Regions from separate parts of the Homo sapiens genome. Here all the other regions are linked to region 3. The links are contacts of gene promoters, found by promoter capture Hi-C in blood cells and fetal thymus (Javierre and others, 2016). All regions are on one chromosome and are shown on one strand. Each heading gives the region's core, a stretch centred on a gene start or on the middle of the fragment in contact. The rest is flanking DNA. Distances are from core to core; before and after follow the strand shown.

Region 1 (4,204 bases), core at 993-3,492, 260 kb after region 3:
AGCCACCGCGCCTGACCGTTTTCTTTGTTTGTTTCTTTGTTTTTGAGACAGAGTCTTGCTCTGTTGTCCAGGCTGGAGTGCAGTGGCACAATTTCAGCTCACTGAAGCCTCTGCCTCCCAGGTTCAAGCGAATCTCCTCCCTCAGCCCCCTGAGTAGCTAGGATTACACGCGACTACCACCACACCCAGCTAATTTTTGTATTTTTAGTAGAGACGGGGTTTCACCATGTTGGCCAGGCTGGTCTCGAACTTCTGACCTCAAGTGATCCACCTGCCTCAGCCTCCCAAAGTGTCGGGACTATAGGTGTGGGCCACTGCAGCCTGCCTAACCTCCCCTCTTACAAGGACAGAGGTCAGACTGGACCAGGAGCCTCCACCTCCAGTATAACCTCAGCTCCATCCTTGGCAAAAACCCAATTCCCAAATAAGGTCCCATTCTGAGGCCCTGGAGGTCAGGACTTCTGCGCTTCCCTTTCTGGGTGACAATTCAACCCACAACAGGGCCCAATCCAGAGTGTGTCTCTCCACTGCAGACCCCCTCAAGGCTGCTCCAGAGGACGGGGTGCCGAAGGGGAGGGAGGCCAAGCGGGAGGCTGGGCCTGCGGCCTCTGGGGCACAGCAGCTGTATTTCTGGCCGGTTCAGTGGGAGGCTGGAGGGCCGGATCGGGTGGGCCTGGGGCGGCAGGGGCACCACAGTGCCACTCAGAAGGGCAGGAGCAGAGCCCTGGGAGGGCAGGGAGCAAACCCTGAGCGGGCCTGGCTGGGGGGTTGCTGGCACAGTGGGCAGCTGTTGGGTGGGTTGGGGGAGGGGGTGGTGATGTCTCTTGGGGGGTCAAGGTGCCCGAGTTGCAGGCCCTGGAGGGCTGGGGCTGGCCAGGGCTGCCATCTCACGCTGCTGGGGGAGGCAGAGGGAGGGACGGAGCCATGCAGGGCCTTCCAGTGCTTTCCCACGCTGAGGTGGCTTCGGGGACACAGCCCTGAGGACACACAGGCCTGCGCCCAGCCCCCTTCTCCCCTCGTAGTGGCCCAGGCTGTACCCCGTACACGGCAGCTATGGGCACTATGGGGACACTCAGGCCCCAGCAGGAGTCAGAAGGTAGAGATGGCGGGAGGCCCCCCACTTCCGTGAGGTGCCTGGCCCCTGCCCCCTTCCTGGCTCTGTCTACACCCAGGCATCTCATCTCTCCCACACCGGGGGCTCCTGGCTCTGGAAGCCAATTCCTCCCTTATCAGCAGCGGCAGCCTTTGGGTGCCACGTCGGGGTCTTGGCCCCTCTCTGTCTGCCCGCGTCTGTCTCCTCTCTCCTCCCGTCAACTTGGGGCTCTCGCCACCCAGTGCCCGCCCCCCCCACCCCATGCTCCCGTTCACGCTCTCTTTCTCTCCAGCCTCCTTCCAGCGCCAATCCTGGTTGCCATGGAAACACTGCAGCGGGTACCAGGTGGTGGCTGGGGGCAGGGAGCCTGCGCTGCCGCAGCCTGCGCCATTTCCGATGCCAGGCACCCTCAAGGCACAGAGGCTGGGGCTCATGTTGGGGGCACTTGGCCTCTCCAGGCCTCGAAGGCTTCTCCTGGGCTGACGCGAGCTGGGGAACGGGAGGGACGGACGTGGGAGCGAGAACGTCACACTGGAGGCAGCTGGTGGCACGATGGGGGACAGAGTGAAAGGTAGCAAGTCAAGGTGAACTGAAGGATGATCAGAGCGGAGGGAGGCTGTGGACAGGGGCGGAGGCTGTGGGAAGGGGACCCGTGCTGCGCAGCGGGGCTAGGGAGGTTGGACCCGCTGAGGCAAGGGCACATTGAGGAGAAGCCACAACCAGGGCTCCCGCTGCCTCTGGGAGGGCTAGGGCCACGGCCAGGCTGAAGCCTCCCTCAGACCTTAGCCGCCTGAGGACAAGGAGGAGAGGTGAGCACGAGGGGACAGACAGAGCCCAGAGTCCCTGTCACCATCTCTTCTCCCAACCCAAAGCAAGATGCAGTTTCCATGACAACCTGGCCGGCCAGAGAGGGGGCAGGGGACTGCAGAGGAAACTTTCCACATCAGCAGGGAGAAAGAGGGTGTGCTGCAGGGGAAAGGGGGGCACGCAGGGTTCCCAGAACCCCCGGTCACCATGCTCACTGTGCTGGACCCGGGAAAGTGGACAGAGCACAGGGAAGGGTTCTCCCGCCTCCACTCCCGCAGGCCCACGCCCCCACGCTGGGCCTGCGGGGAAGGGGGAAGACTGAGCCCAGAGGCTCAAGGGTCAGATGTCCAAAGAGCAGCGGCTGCCCAGGCCTTGTGCAGCGGGCAGCGAGCAGCCCAGGGAGCCAGGCCCCAGACACCGCACTCAGGGCCATGGCCGACAGGGGCCCGTGGAGGGTGGGCGTGGTGGGCTATGGCCGCCTCGGTGAGTCCCTGACCATCCTTGGCCTCCTTCCCCAAACCCCTTCCTAAAGCTCCCAAGACTCTCTGCCCTCCACAAACACTTTTTTCTCTCTCTATCTGCCCCTGGCTGTGTCTCTGGGTCTGCCCACTGCACCCCCACCCCAGGTCTCTGTCCTCTCCGTCTCTGTCTCCCTTCTCTCTGGGCCTCTGTCCACCCCACTGTGTCTCTGCCCTGCCCCCATCTCTGTCTCCCTACCCCGCAATCTGAGTCTGTCCCCACCTCCTCTCTCTCTGGGTCTCTGTCCCCACCTCCTCTCTCTCTGGGTCTCTGTCCCCCTCTCTCTGGATCTCTAGCCCTCTCCTTTCCCTCTCCCCAGGACAGTCCCTCGTCTCCCGCCTCTTGGCTCAGGGACCAGAACTTGGCCTAGAACTTGTTTTTGTCTGGAATCGTGACCCAGGACGAATGGCAGGGAGCGTGCCCCCTTCCCTGCAGCTCCAGAACCTTGCTGCCCTTGGGGAAAGGTCAGTGACCTTGCCATGGGAGAGTGGAGCTCCCTGAAGCTCCTGTCCTGGCTCTCTTAGCCACTGTGTGATCTCAGGGGTTCCCTGACCCTCTCTGGGCCTTGGTTCAAGCAAATGTGAAACAGGACGAACCCATTCATCTCATTTCGCCTCCCAGGTCAGGGAGAAGAAGGGCAGCCCTCAGTAGACTCGGAGGGAACCTTGGGGAGAAGAGGCCTAATACCTCTCCAAGACCCTCCGCCCTCTTTCCCCTCTCCCAGGCGCCCTGATCTGGTTGTGGAAGTGGCCCATCCCAAAATAATCCATGAATCTGGGGCACAAATCCTGCGCCATGCCAATCTCCTGGTAAGCCCCACCCCAACCATTTACGCAGAGCCCTGCCCCTTCTGTCTTGGTCTCACCCCACCCTGAAGTGGATATCCTTCCCTGACCTCAACCCTCCCCTCCTTCATCCACCCCAGGTGGGGTCCCCCTCAGCTCTAAGTGACCAGACCACAGAGCGGCAGCTCTTGGAGGCCTCACAGCACTGGGACCACGCCGTGTTTGTGGCCCGAGGGGCCCTGTGGGGCGCTGAGGACATCAGGAGATTGGATGCAGCTGGGGGCCTCCGGGTGAGGCCTGCTGGGCTCCCCAGGAACCAGGGGAGGCCTGCAAAGACCCCACTCCCCCTAACCCGGGCTCTTGCTTCCAGAGCCTTCGTGTCACCATGGCCACACACCCCGATGGCTTCCGGCTTGAGGGACCCCTGGCTGCAGCCCACAGCCCTGGGCCTTGCACTGTGCTCTACGAAGGCCCTGTCCGTGGGCTCTGCCCCTTTGCCCCGCGAAATTCCAACACCATGGCGGCGGCTGCCCTGGCTGCCCCCAGCCTGGGCTTCGATGGGGTGATTGGGGTGCTCGTGGCTGATACCAGGTGAGCAGAGCTAAGCAGGGTGTTGGGCTGAGTCCAGGCTCTCCAGACTGACTGCCCCTCTTGTCCCAGCCTCACGGACATGCACGTGGTGGATGTAGAGCTGAGCGGACCCCGGGGCCCCACGGGCCGAAGCTTTGCTGTGCACACCCGCAGAGAGAACCCTGCCGAGCCAGGCGCGGTCACCGGCTCCGCCACCGTCACGGCCTTCTGGCAGAGCCTCCTGGGTGCGGCCAGGCCCCTCTCCCCCGGCCCTGGGCTCCTGTGTTCTGCAGAGCTTGGGGGTCCCGGGCTCTCACTAGTTCTGCAGTTCTGGTTCTGTATTTGTTGACCTTTCTTTCTTTCTGACCTTTATTTCCTTAACCTCTCTCCATGACTTTGAATCCTGGCACTGTAGATGTCTCCATTTGTG
Region 2 (4,852 bases), core at 705-3,204, 290 kb after region 3:
ATCATGGCAATTTAAGTTTGGGTTTGAAGCTGGCCCCTGCTCTGCCACTCACTCACGATGAGACCTTGTGTGGTGCCTACTCTGAGCCCGTTTCCTCTTCTGGAAAAAGGGGCTGACACGAATACCTACCACCTCACATGGCTGCTGTGAGGACATCTGAGTTAATACTTGCAAAGCGTGGAACCGCTAATGCTGGGCACGTGGCGACTGATCAGGAAAGCCGCTCTGAAATTATTACTGCTGTGATGACCTTTTAAAAACTGAGGTTTGTCTCACAGGCAAGGGGGCATTTAAAGAGTGTTTCTCTTCTTTCATGTCCCACTTTCCCCTAACCTGAGGCAAATCTGTTAGTAAATGGTTGTTAGTAAATGTCATACGACGGGAGGCACCCAGACTCCAAGTCTTGACTTCTCAGGGCACCAATGTTAAGTGTCTAGGAGAGGACGTTGCCTGACTCACCGATCTCAAATGAGTGCTCCAGCAGCAGCCCCACCGTGCCACAGGCCTCGCCCTCTCGACCTTCCGCCCCAGCCTGCAGAGGACACAGAAGGCCCCAGGTGAGGACCACCCAAGCCCTCAGCATAGTAGTCACCCACAGAACCCAGGACAGACAGACTGGTGGGCTGAGGGAGGAGCCTTATCTTCAAGTTAATCACTGCTGCTTGCCTTTATTTCACTAGAAACCACCCATTTCATGAATATTCATACTCTGCACTCCCTCACCCCCAGAAAACCAGACCCTACAAACATGCCTAACCTCATTGCCAAAGCAACTATCCCAAGGTCACTTCCAAGCCTTGCGCCACAAATACTCATGAGTTAAATGACACTCTCCCTCTCCCAAGCCTTCTTTTTCATGCTAATATTCAAATGGCCTCCTTATCACCTGACAGCCCAATAGCCAAGATGCAGCCTGAGTTCAGTCCCTATTAAGCACATTCAAGATTCATGCTTTCCTTTTCTCCAACCTCCAAACTTGCATACTCACGCATATTTAGGAGACAAAACTCATCTCCACTTCCTCAAGAGCCCCCTCCCACGCCTTATTTTCTTTTTCTGAGACAGGGTCTCGCTCAGTCGCCCAGGCTGGAGTGCAGTAGCGTGATCTCAGCTCCCTGCAACCTCTGCCTCCTGGGTTCAAGCGATTCTCCTGCCTCAGCCTCCCGAGTAGTTGGAATTACAGGCACCTGCCACCACATCCAGCTAATTTTTGTGTTTTTAGTAGAGACGGGGTTTCACCATTTTGAGCAGGCTGGTCTTGAACTCCTGACTTCAAGTGGTCCGCCCGCCTCGGCTTCCCGAAGTGCTGGGATTACAAGCATGAGCCACCGCGACCGGCCTAATTTTTTTTTTTTTTTTAGTATTTTTTGTAGAGACAGGGCTCGCTATGTTGCCCAGGCTGGTCTTGAACTCCTGGCCTAGAGCAATCCTCCCGCCTCGGCCTCCCTAAGCGTTGGGATGACAGATGAGCCACCGCGCCCGGCTTCACCTTGCCTCTTTCATTTCAACCGCCCGGACGTCGGATTCTCCAAGATTCCACACCCCCAGCCCCGCCCCCTCATACATATTCCCGAGCCAGAGCCTTCCGACAGGTGCGCTTGTCCTCCCACCCAGTCCTTGCAACCCGGTGCACTGGCGAGGCCCCTCCTGCGCGTGCGTGACTGAGGCCTGGCTTTCCAGGGATCTCCCACCTCTTCCCTCTCAGCCCTGCGCAGCCTCCTTCCGTCTGTAACTCACCTAAAGACCCAAGACCTGCGACATCCGTAGACCGCGCCCGCTATGCACAGCTAAAGAGCACTCACCCCTCGCGCACCAGTCCCGGCCCGGCAGCCGCTGCCCCGGGCTCGACTGGGCGCTGCTACCGCCATCAGCAAGAGCAGGAGCAGCCGGGTTGCCCCAGCGCTGGCTGCCGCCATCTCGGCTTCTTCCCACCAGCGAAGGGACGGCTGTGAGCCAAGAGCCGCGGAGCACGCCGGGAGGAACAGGCCGCATCCTGACGCCCGTGCGCCTGCGCTGGGCCCCGGCACCTGCGCACTGGCACCCGTCCGCACCTGGGGCCTGACGTCAGCAGGATGGGGCCGCCCCTTTGGCCTGATCTCCAGGAGCCGCCCCCTCCAGGGACGTCATCACAAATCAGGAGCCCGCTCTTGTGTGACGTCATAAAGCCCGCTCCGCATCATGACGTCACAGTGCGCGTAGTCCCGCCCCCTCGCTTTCTCCCTCTGCTCCTCCGTCCGCTCCCGTCGGACGGGGACATTGCAATGAGGCGGGATCGCGGCCCTAAGCCGGCCCTGGGTGGAGCTGGCGAGGTGGAACCAGGTGGGATGGCAGGTGAGAGAGGGGAGCCAGGCCTAGAGGGGTTGGACCTGGTGAAGGAACCAAGTAGGATGGGGCCGGCAATTCGGGGGCATCTGATACCCCGTCCTCTCCGCGGGGCTGTGCCGGGCCCTCTCAGTTGGGAAGCCAGGCACAGCCTCCCAGGATCGACCCCCAGACTTCGTCCTGGTAAAATGCCTCCTGGTTGCAGCCTCTCCCACGGGCCGTCCCAGACGGCTCCAACGCTACCTCCAGAGCGGCGAATTCGACCAGTTTCGGGACTTCCCCATCTTTGAGAGCAACTTCGTACAGGTAGGGAGCCCCAGAACCCCCTCATCCCCAGCCTCGGCCTGCCCCTCGACCTCCTCCTGACTTGGAAAGCCCCTGCTCCCCCATAACGTCCATCTCGTGGGATTCCCGACTCCCAACTCCTATGTGATCTCTGACACCCCATACTTCTAGTTCTCTAGATTCTTTGTGAACCCTGGCCTGTAACTCCCTTGCCTCAGTTTCCCTGACTTCACACCCATATGATTCTTGAACTTTAATTTCAAGATATCTGGCCCCCAGCCTGATTTTCAACTCACCTGGTTCATGACCTTTTCCCCTACCAAGATTCCTAACCTCTGATCCCTCCTCAGTTCTGCCCCGACATCTATCCTGCCCCGACCTCTGACCTCTGGCCCCAGGTGACTCGGTTGGGAGAAGTTGCCAACGAGGTCACCATGGGGGTGGCAGCCTCCAGTCCAGCCCTGGAGCTCCCGGACCTATTGCTTCTGGCCGGCCCTGCCAAGGAGAACGGACACCTGCAACTCTTCGGGTAACTGCCCCCACCTCAGCCGAGACCCCTTCCTCCCTCAGCTCCAGGCACCTGAGCCCCCAGCAGTACCTCCCCTCGTCCAGACCACCCCCAGGGCCAGGAGCTGGCAGTGCTACCGGCCCTCCCTGAGCTGCCATCTACCCGGGAGAACAAGGACAGAGCAGCCCTCAGGGGCCAGAAATCAGAGATTAGACAGACCTGAAGGGGACAGTCCTCAGCCATGCCCCAGCAGCGGTCAGGAGAATGATCATTTCCGCAGGGCCTGCTCATGCCAGACGCCCCTAGGCCGCGCATACGATCTCACCTCTGACCTCATATCTTCACATGGTGGGGTCCCTTAGCCCCATCCGCCAAAGAGCTAAACTGAGGCTCAGAGAGCCGGGAGCCAGTTGCCCAGGGTCCCACTGTGGCTCCAGAGTGGGCCAGGATTGGAATGCCAAGCTTGTCATGATTGTGGATCTCATGGTTCTTGAGCCCTCCTGTGCCTCACTCCACACTGCCCCTTTACGTCATATTTTTTCATTGAAAAAGTAATGCAGATCGGGTGCGGTGGCCCACACCTGTAATCCCAGCACTTTGGGAGGCCAAGGCAGGCAGATCATTTGAGGCCAGGAATTTGAGACCGGTCTGGCCAACATAGCAAAACCCTGTCTCTACCAGAAATACAAAAAATTAGCCAGGGCCGGGTGCGGTGGCTCACGCTTGTAATCCCAGCACTTTGGGAGGCTGAGGTGGGTGGATCACGAGGTCAAGAGAACGAGACCATCCTGGCTAACACAGTGAAACCCCGTCTCTACTAAAAATACAAAAAATTAGTCGGGCGTGGTGGTGAGCGCCTGTAGTCCCAGCTACTCGGGAGGCTGAGGCAGGAGAATGGCGTGAACCCAGGAGGCGGAGGTTGCAGTGAGCTGAGATTGCGCCACTGCACTCCAGCCTGGGCGACAGAGCGAGACTCCATCTCAAAAAAAAAAAAAAAAATTAGCCAGGTGTGGTGGCGGGCGCCGGTAATCCCAGCTACTCGGGAGGCTGAGGCAGGAGAATTGCTTGAACCCAAGAGGTGGAGGTTGCAGTGAGCCGAGATCATCCCACTGCACTCCAACCTGGGTAACAGAATGAGTGAGACTCTGTCTCAAAAAAAAAAAGAGAGAATAAAAAAGAAAAGAAAAGAGAAAAGAAAAAGTAATGCAAACAAACGAGAAAACAAGCACAAAATAGACAGCAGAAGCTGTTCCTTTTTCTCACCCAAGGCTCCTGCCCCAACTCCAGCTACAAACACTGAAATGTTTACATGCCTACAGTACAGAAACATTCTGCCAGTAGCTTTCACTTTTTTTGTTGTTTGTTTTTTTGAGACAGAGTCTCCAGGCTGGAGTGCAGTGGCACAACCTCGGCTCACTGCAACCTCTGCCTCCTGGGTTCAAGCAATTCTCCTGCCTCAGCCTCCTGAGTAGCTGGGATTACAGGAGCCTGCCACCACGCCCAGCTAATTTTTGTATTTTTAGTAGAGACGGGGTTTCACCATGTTGGCCAGGCTGGTCTCGAACTCCTGACCTCAGGTGATCTGCCTGCCTGGGCCTCCCAAAGTGCTGGGATTACAGGCATGAGCTACCATGCCTGTCTGGCTTTCACTTTTTTGACCACATCTCACAGTTCATGAAAGAGAGATGCCGGGTATGGTGACTCATGCCTGTAATCCCAGCACTTTGGGAGGCTGAG
Region 3 (4,639 bases), core at 931-3,430:
GATTGCTGCCTCTTACATCCTATTGGTCAGAAAGCAGTCACATGGTTGTACCTACATGCAAAGGATACTGGGAAATGTAGTCTTTCCTTTTTTCTAGTTAAGCACCGTGCCTCATTAGAACACAGGAGTTTTACTACCAAAAAAGGGGAGGCCAGGTGCTGTGGCTCACACCTGTAATCCCAGTAGTTTTGGGAGCCGAGGCTGGAGGATCACTTGAACTCAGGAGTTTGAGACCACTCTGGGCAACATGATGAAACCCCGTGTCTACAAATTACCCAGGTAGCACATGCCTATAGTCCCAGGTACTAGGCAGGGTGAGGGGAGGTGGGGGGTGGGGCGTGGGGAGTCCTGAGGCAGGAGAATGGCTTGAGCCCTGAAGGTCAAGGCTGCAGTGAGCCGAGATTTTGCCACTGCGCTCCAGCCTGGGTGACAAAATCAGACCCTGTCTTTAAAAAATTTTTAAAAAAAAGAAAAAGAGAGGGAAAGAATGGGCCAGGTGCAGTGGCTCACGCCTGTAATCCTAGCCCTTTGGGAGGCCGAGGCAGGCGGATCACAAGGTCAGGAGATTGAGACCATCCTGGCCAACGTGGTTAAACCCCGTCTCTACTAAAAAATATACAAAAATTATCTGGGCGTGGTGGCACGTGCCTGTAATCCCAGCTACTCGGGAGGCTGAGGCAGAATTGCTTGAACCAGAAAGTCAGAGGTTGCAGTGAGCCGAGATCGCGCCACTGCAGTCCAGCCTGGTGACAGAGCAAGACTCTATCTCAAAAAAAAAAGGGGGGGGGGGCGGGGAAGAATGGACACTGGGGAGTAAGTAGCTGTCTCTACCACAGAGCTTTAGATGAGGGGTTGCTGGAAGACTTCCTGAAAGAAGAGGCAGGATTTGGCAGGGTTTTAGAAGCCAGTCAAGGTAAGAGGCCACAAGCAAACTAAGAAGGACGGCTTCCAGCTTCCAGCTGAAGTCTTCCATCATTCCCGGGGGGCGTTGCCACGGGGACAGGATGACAGAAACTCCTCCTCTCCAAACGCCCTCGCCAGGGCAGAAGTCAAAGACTGGAAAAACTTTTCTTGGAAATCTCTGCCAACGAAGACGTAGAGGAAGGGGTTGAGGCTGCTGTTGACACAGCCCAAGGCAAAGCTAGCCTGGAGGATGAGCAGCATCCGGGGGTGGTAGATTTCCTTGAGCATCACCCGTCGCCACAGATGGACCAACAGCACCACGTTAAACGGGGACCAGAAGATAAAGAAAGCGCTCACCAGCACCAGCAGCAGCCTCTTGGGCCGGTTGGCATGGACCCAGCCCTCCCGCAAGAGCTTGGCCCGGATGAGGTGGGCGCAGGTGCCTATGATTGCTAAGGGCCCCAGGAAGCCCAGCAGGAAGTGGCCAATGGTCCCTATAATGTGTCCCTCCACGACCCCTTCAATCCAAATCTGGGCAGTCTCATTGTCAGAGTTGAACGCCAAGTAGCAGTGCGTACAGCCATTCCATTTTCTGGTTGTCCGGAATTTCAGGTGCGCAGAGCACAAGGCGGCGGCCAGGAGCCACACCCCAAAGGCCAGCCAGCTCGCCCGCTGCACAGTGCGGTGGTTCAGGGCCCAGACGGGGTAGAGGACAGAGATGCAACGGTCCACAGAGATGAAGACAAGGAGGCAGTTACTGGCAAAGTAGCTGAGGAACACAAAGGTGATGTAGAGTTTGCAGGCCCACTCTCCGAGGAGCCACTGCCTGGAGACAATATAGTACATGGCAATGGGCAGAGACAGTGAGAGCATGAAATCGGCAAGGGCCAGGTGGAAGAAGCAGACGGTGGAGACCGTGCGTGCCATACGGAAGACAGTCATCCACAGCACCAGCCCATTGCCCAGCACTCCGACGACAATGGACGCAGACAGGATAACCACAGTCAGTGGGCGGAGGGACCCCACCTCCTCAGACAGGCATCCGGAAGAGTTCATCTTCCTGGAACAAGAGCGATCACGTGTCAGGACCCCAGGTTGCCTGTCACTGCAGCCTCTGGTCCCCTCCGAGACCCCATTCATGATTTCTCCATTCCATAATTTTTATGGAATGCTTATTATTATTATTCTTTTAGAGACAGCGTCATGCTCTGTCACCCAGGCTGGAGTGCAAAGGTACAATCACAGATCACTGCAGCCTCCACCTCCTAGGCTCAAGAGATCCTCCCCCCTCAGCCTCCTGGAGTAGCTGGGACTACAGGCACTTACCACCATGCCTGGCTAATTTTTTTACCTTTTTTTTTTTTTTTTTTTTTTGACACAGAGTCTTGCTCTCTCTGTCACCCAGGCTGTAGTGCAATGGTATGATCTCGGCTCACTGCAACCTCCACCTCCAAGGTTCAAGCAATTTTCCTGCCTCAGCCTCCCAAGTAGCTGGAACTACAGGCACATGCCACCACACCTGGCTAATTTTTCTGTTTTTAGTAGAGACAGGGTTTTACCATGTTGGCCAGGCTGGTCTTGAACTACTGACCTCGTGACCCGTCCACCAGCCTCCCAAAGTGCTGGGATTATAGGTGTGAGCCACTCTGCCAGGCCTTAAATTCTTTTTTGTAGAGATGGGGTTTTGCTGTGTTGCCCAGGCTGGTCTTGAACTCCTGGCTTCAAGTGATCCTCCCACCTCAGCCTCCCAAAGTGCTGGGATTACAAGTGTGAGCCATTGAGCCCAGCCTGAATGCTTTTTATGACACAATAATATTGTTCTTTTTTTTTTTTTTTTTTTGAGACAGAGTCTCCTTATGTCACCCAGGCTGCAGTGCAATGGCACGATCTCGGCTCACTGGACACTATAATATTGTTCTAAGTACTGGACATAACTCGTGTAACAAAACAAGCCCTCATGGAACTTACATCCCAGTGAGAGATGTCAGGTGTAATACATATAATAAATTTACTTCATGATATACTGCTTTAGAAGACTACAAGTGTTATGGAAAAATAATAAATGAAATGGAGGGGCCAGGTGTGGTGGCTCATGCTTGTAATCACAACACTTTGGGAGGCTGAGGCAGAAGGATTGCTTGAAGCCAGGAGTTCCAAACCAAGGTGGGCAACATAGTGAGACCGTCTCTACAAAAAATAAATAATTACAAGTTTTTGTGGCCATGCACAGTGGCTCACGCCTGTAATCCCAGCACTTTGGGAGGCTGAGGTAGGCGGATCACCTGAGGTCAGGAGTTCGAGATCAGCCTGCCCAGCATGGCGAAACCCCGTCTCTACTAAAAATACAAAAAACATTAGCTGGGTGTGGTGGCAGCCACCTGTAATCCCAGCTACTCATGAGGCTGAAGAATCACTTAAACTTGGGAGGCGGAGGTTGCAGTGAATCAAGATCGCGCCACTGCACTCCAGCCTGGGTAACGAGAGCGAAACTCCGTCTCAAAAAAATAAAAATAAAATAAAATTTAAAAATTAGCCGTGAGATGGGCGTAGTGGCTCATTCCTGTAATCCCAGCACTTTGGGAGGCTGAGGCTGGTGGATCACTTAAGTTCAGGAGTTCGAGACCAGCCTGGCCAACATGGCAAAAGCCTGTCTCTACTAAAAATACAAAAATTAGCCAGGCTTGGTGGTGCGTGCCTGTAATCCCAGCTACTCTGAAGGCTGAGGCAGGAGAGTCCCTTGAACCTGGGAGGCAGGGGCTGCAGTGAGCCAAGATCGTGCCACTTCATTCCAGCCCAGGCAACAGAGCAAGACTCTGTCTCAAAAAAAAAAAAAAAAAAAATTAGTCAGGTATGGTGGCACGTGCCTGTAGTCCCAGCAAATTGGGAGACTGAGACACGAGGGTCACTTGAGCCCTGGAATTCGAGGCTGCAATGAGCCATGGTCACGCCATTTCACTTCAGCCTGGGTGATAAAGCGAGACCCTGTCTCAATAAAAATAAAGTAAAAATAATGAGATGGAGGTTCTTTTAACTTTGGATAATGTCAGAGTAACTTTGTCAGACAAATGGTGCCACAGACAAAAAAAAAATTAAAATCTGGACAAAATATTAAAAATTACTCCACTATTTGAAAAAATTGGCAGCAGAAAAGTCTGTCAATCCAGAATTTTATATTCTGTGAAAATATCTTTCAAAAATGAAAGTGAAAAAAGGGCATTTTCAGATAAGCCAGATCTGAAATAATATATGGCCTACAGACCGCAGGAATTGCTTAAGGAAGTAAGTCCTCTAGGCTGAAAGGAGTTAATATCACATGGTGACACATATTGACAGGAAGAAATGAAGATCATGAAATGTTTTCTTTAGAAAAAGATCAAGGTAAGGCCAAGCGCAGTGGTTCACATCCGTAATCCCAGCACACTGGGAGGCCGAGGTGAGCAGATCACTTGAAGTCAGGAGTTCGAGACCAGCCTGGCCAACAAGGCAAAACCCCGTCACTAATAAAAATAAAAAAATTAGCCAGGTGCGGTGGCACACACCTGTGATCGCAGGCATTTGGGAGGCTGAGGCAGGAGAATCGCTTGAATCTGGGAAGCTGGAGGTTGTGGTGAGCCGAGATCAGGCCACTGCACTCCAGCCTGGGTGACAGAGTGAGTCTCTGTCACCAAAAAAAAAAAAAAAAAAAAAAAATCAAGATAAGGACAACTGGGAATGTGAAGGATGAGACAGAAAGGGG

The links. The method cuts DNA at HindIII sites, captures the fragments that hold promoters and counts their contacts. A CHiCAGO score of 5 or more calls a contact.
Region 1: a contact is called between the fragment with the promoter of ASPDH here and the fragment with the promoter of GPR32 in region 3, in 5 of 17 cell types (naive CD4 T cells, fetal thymus, naive B cells and 2 more). The highest score is 6.7, in naive CD4 T cells.
Region 2: the fragment with the promoter of EMC10 here is called in contact with the fragment with the promoter of GPR32 in region 3 in 8 of 17 cell types (total B cells, naive CD4 T cells, naive B cells and 5 more); the score reaches 14.0 in total B cells.

Annotation. Positions count from the first base shown.
Region 1 is chr19:50,511,951-50,516,154 of GRCh38, reverse strand. ASPDH (aspartate dehydrogenase domain containing) reads left to right here and starts at 2,242. Exons shown (of 7, transcript NM_001114598.2): 1 at 2,242-2,383; 2 at 2,739-2,883; 3 at 3,144-3,228; 4 at 3,345-3,494; 5 at 3,575-3,795; 6 at 3,865-4,019. The coding sequence starts at 2,332. The region is part of intron 1 of LOC124904747 (a long non-coding RNA gene); the gene reads right to left. RefSeq lists an enhancer at 3,770-4,204. The HindIII fragment of the contact is 8,504 bases long and covers 1-3,929 here.
Region 2 is chr19:50,473,609-50,478,460 of GRCh38, reverse strand. It overlaps EMC10 (ER membrane protein complex subunit 10), which reads right to left and starts at 1,954. Exons shown (of 7, transcript NM_206538.4): 1 at 1,803-1,954; 2 at 460-532. The coding sequence starts at 1,916. It overlaps GARIN5A (golgi associated RAB2 interactor 5A), which reads left to right and starts at 1,613. Exons shown (of 5, transcript NM_001308429.2): 1 at 1,613-2,331; 2 at 2,528-2,628; 3 at 2,958-3,136. The coding sequence starts at 2,073. RefSeq lists enhancers at 1,750-1,949, 1,816-2,316. The HindIII fragment of the contact is 4,707 bases long and covers 1-3,579 here.
Region 3 is chr19:50,768,005-50,772,643 of GRCh38, reverse strand. GPR32 (G protein-coupled receptor 32) reads right to left here and starts at 2,180. Exons shown (of 1, transcript NM_001506.2): 1 at 912-2,180. The coding sequence starts at 2,043. The coding sequence ends at 973. The HindIII fragment of the contact is 17,473 bases long and covers 1-4,639 here.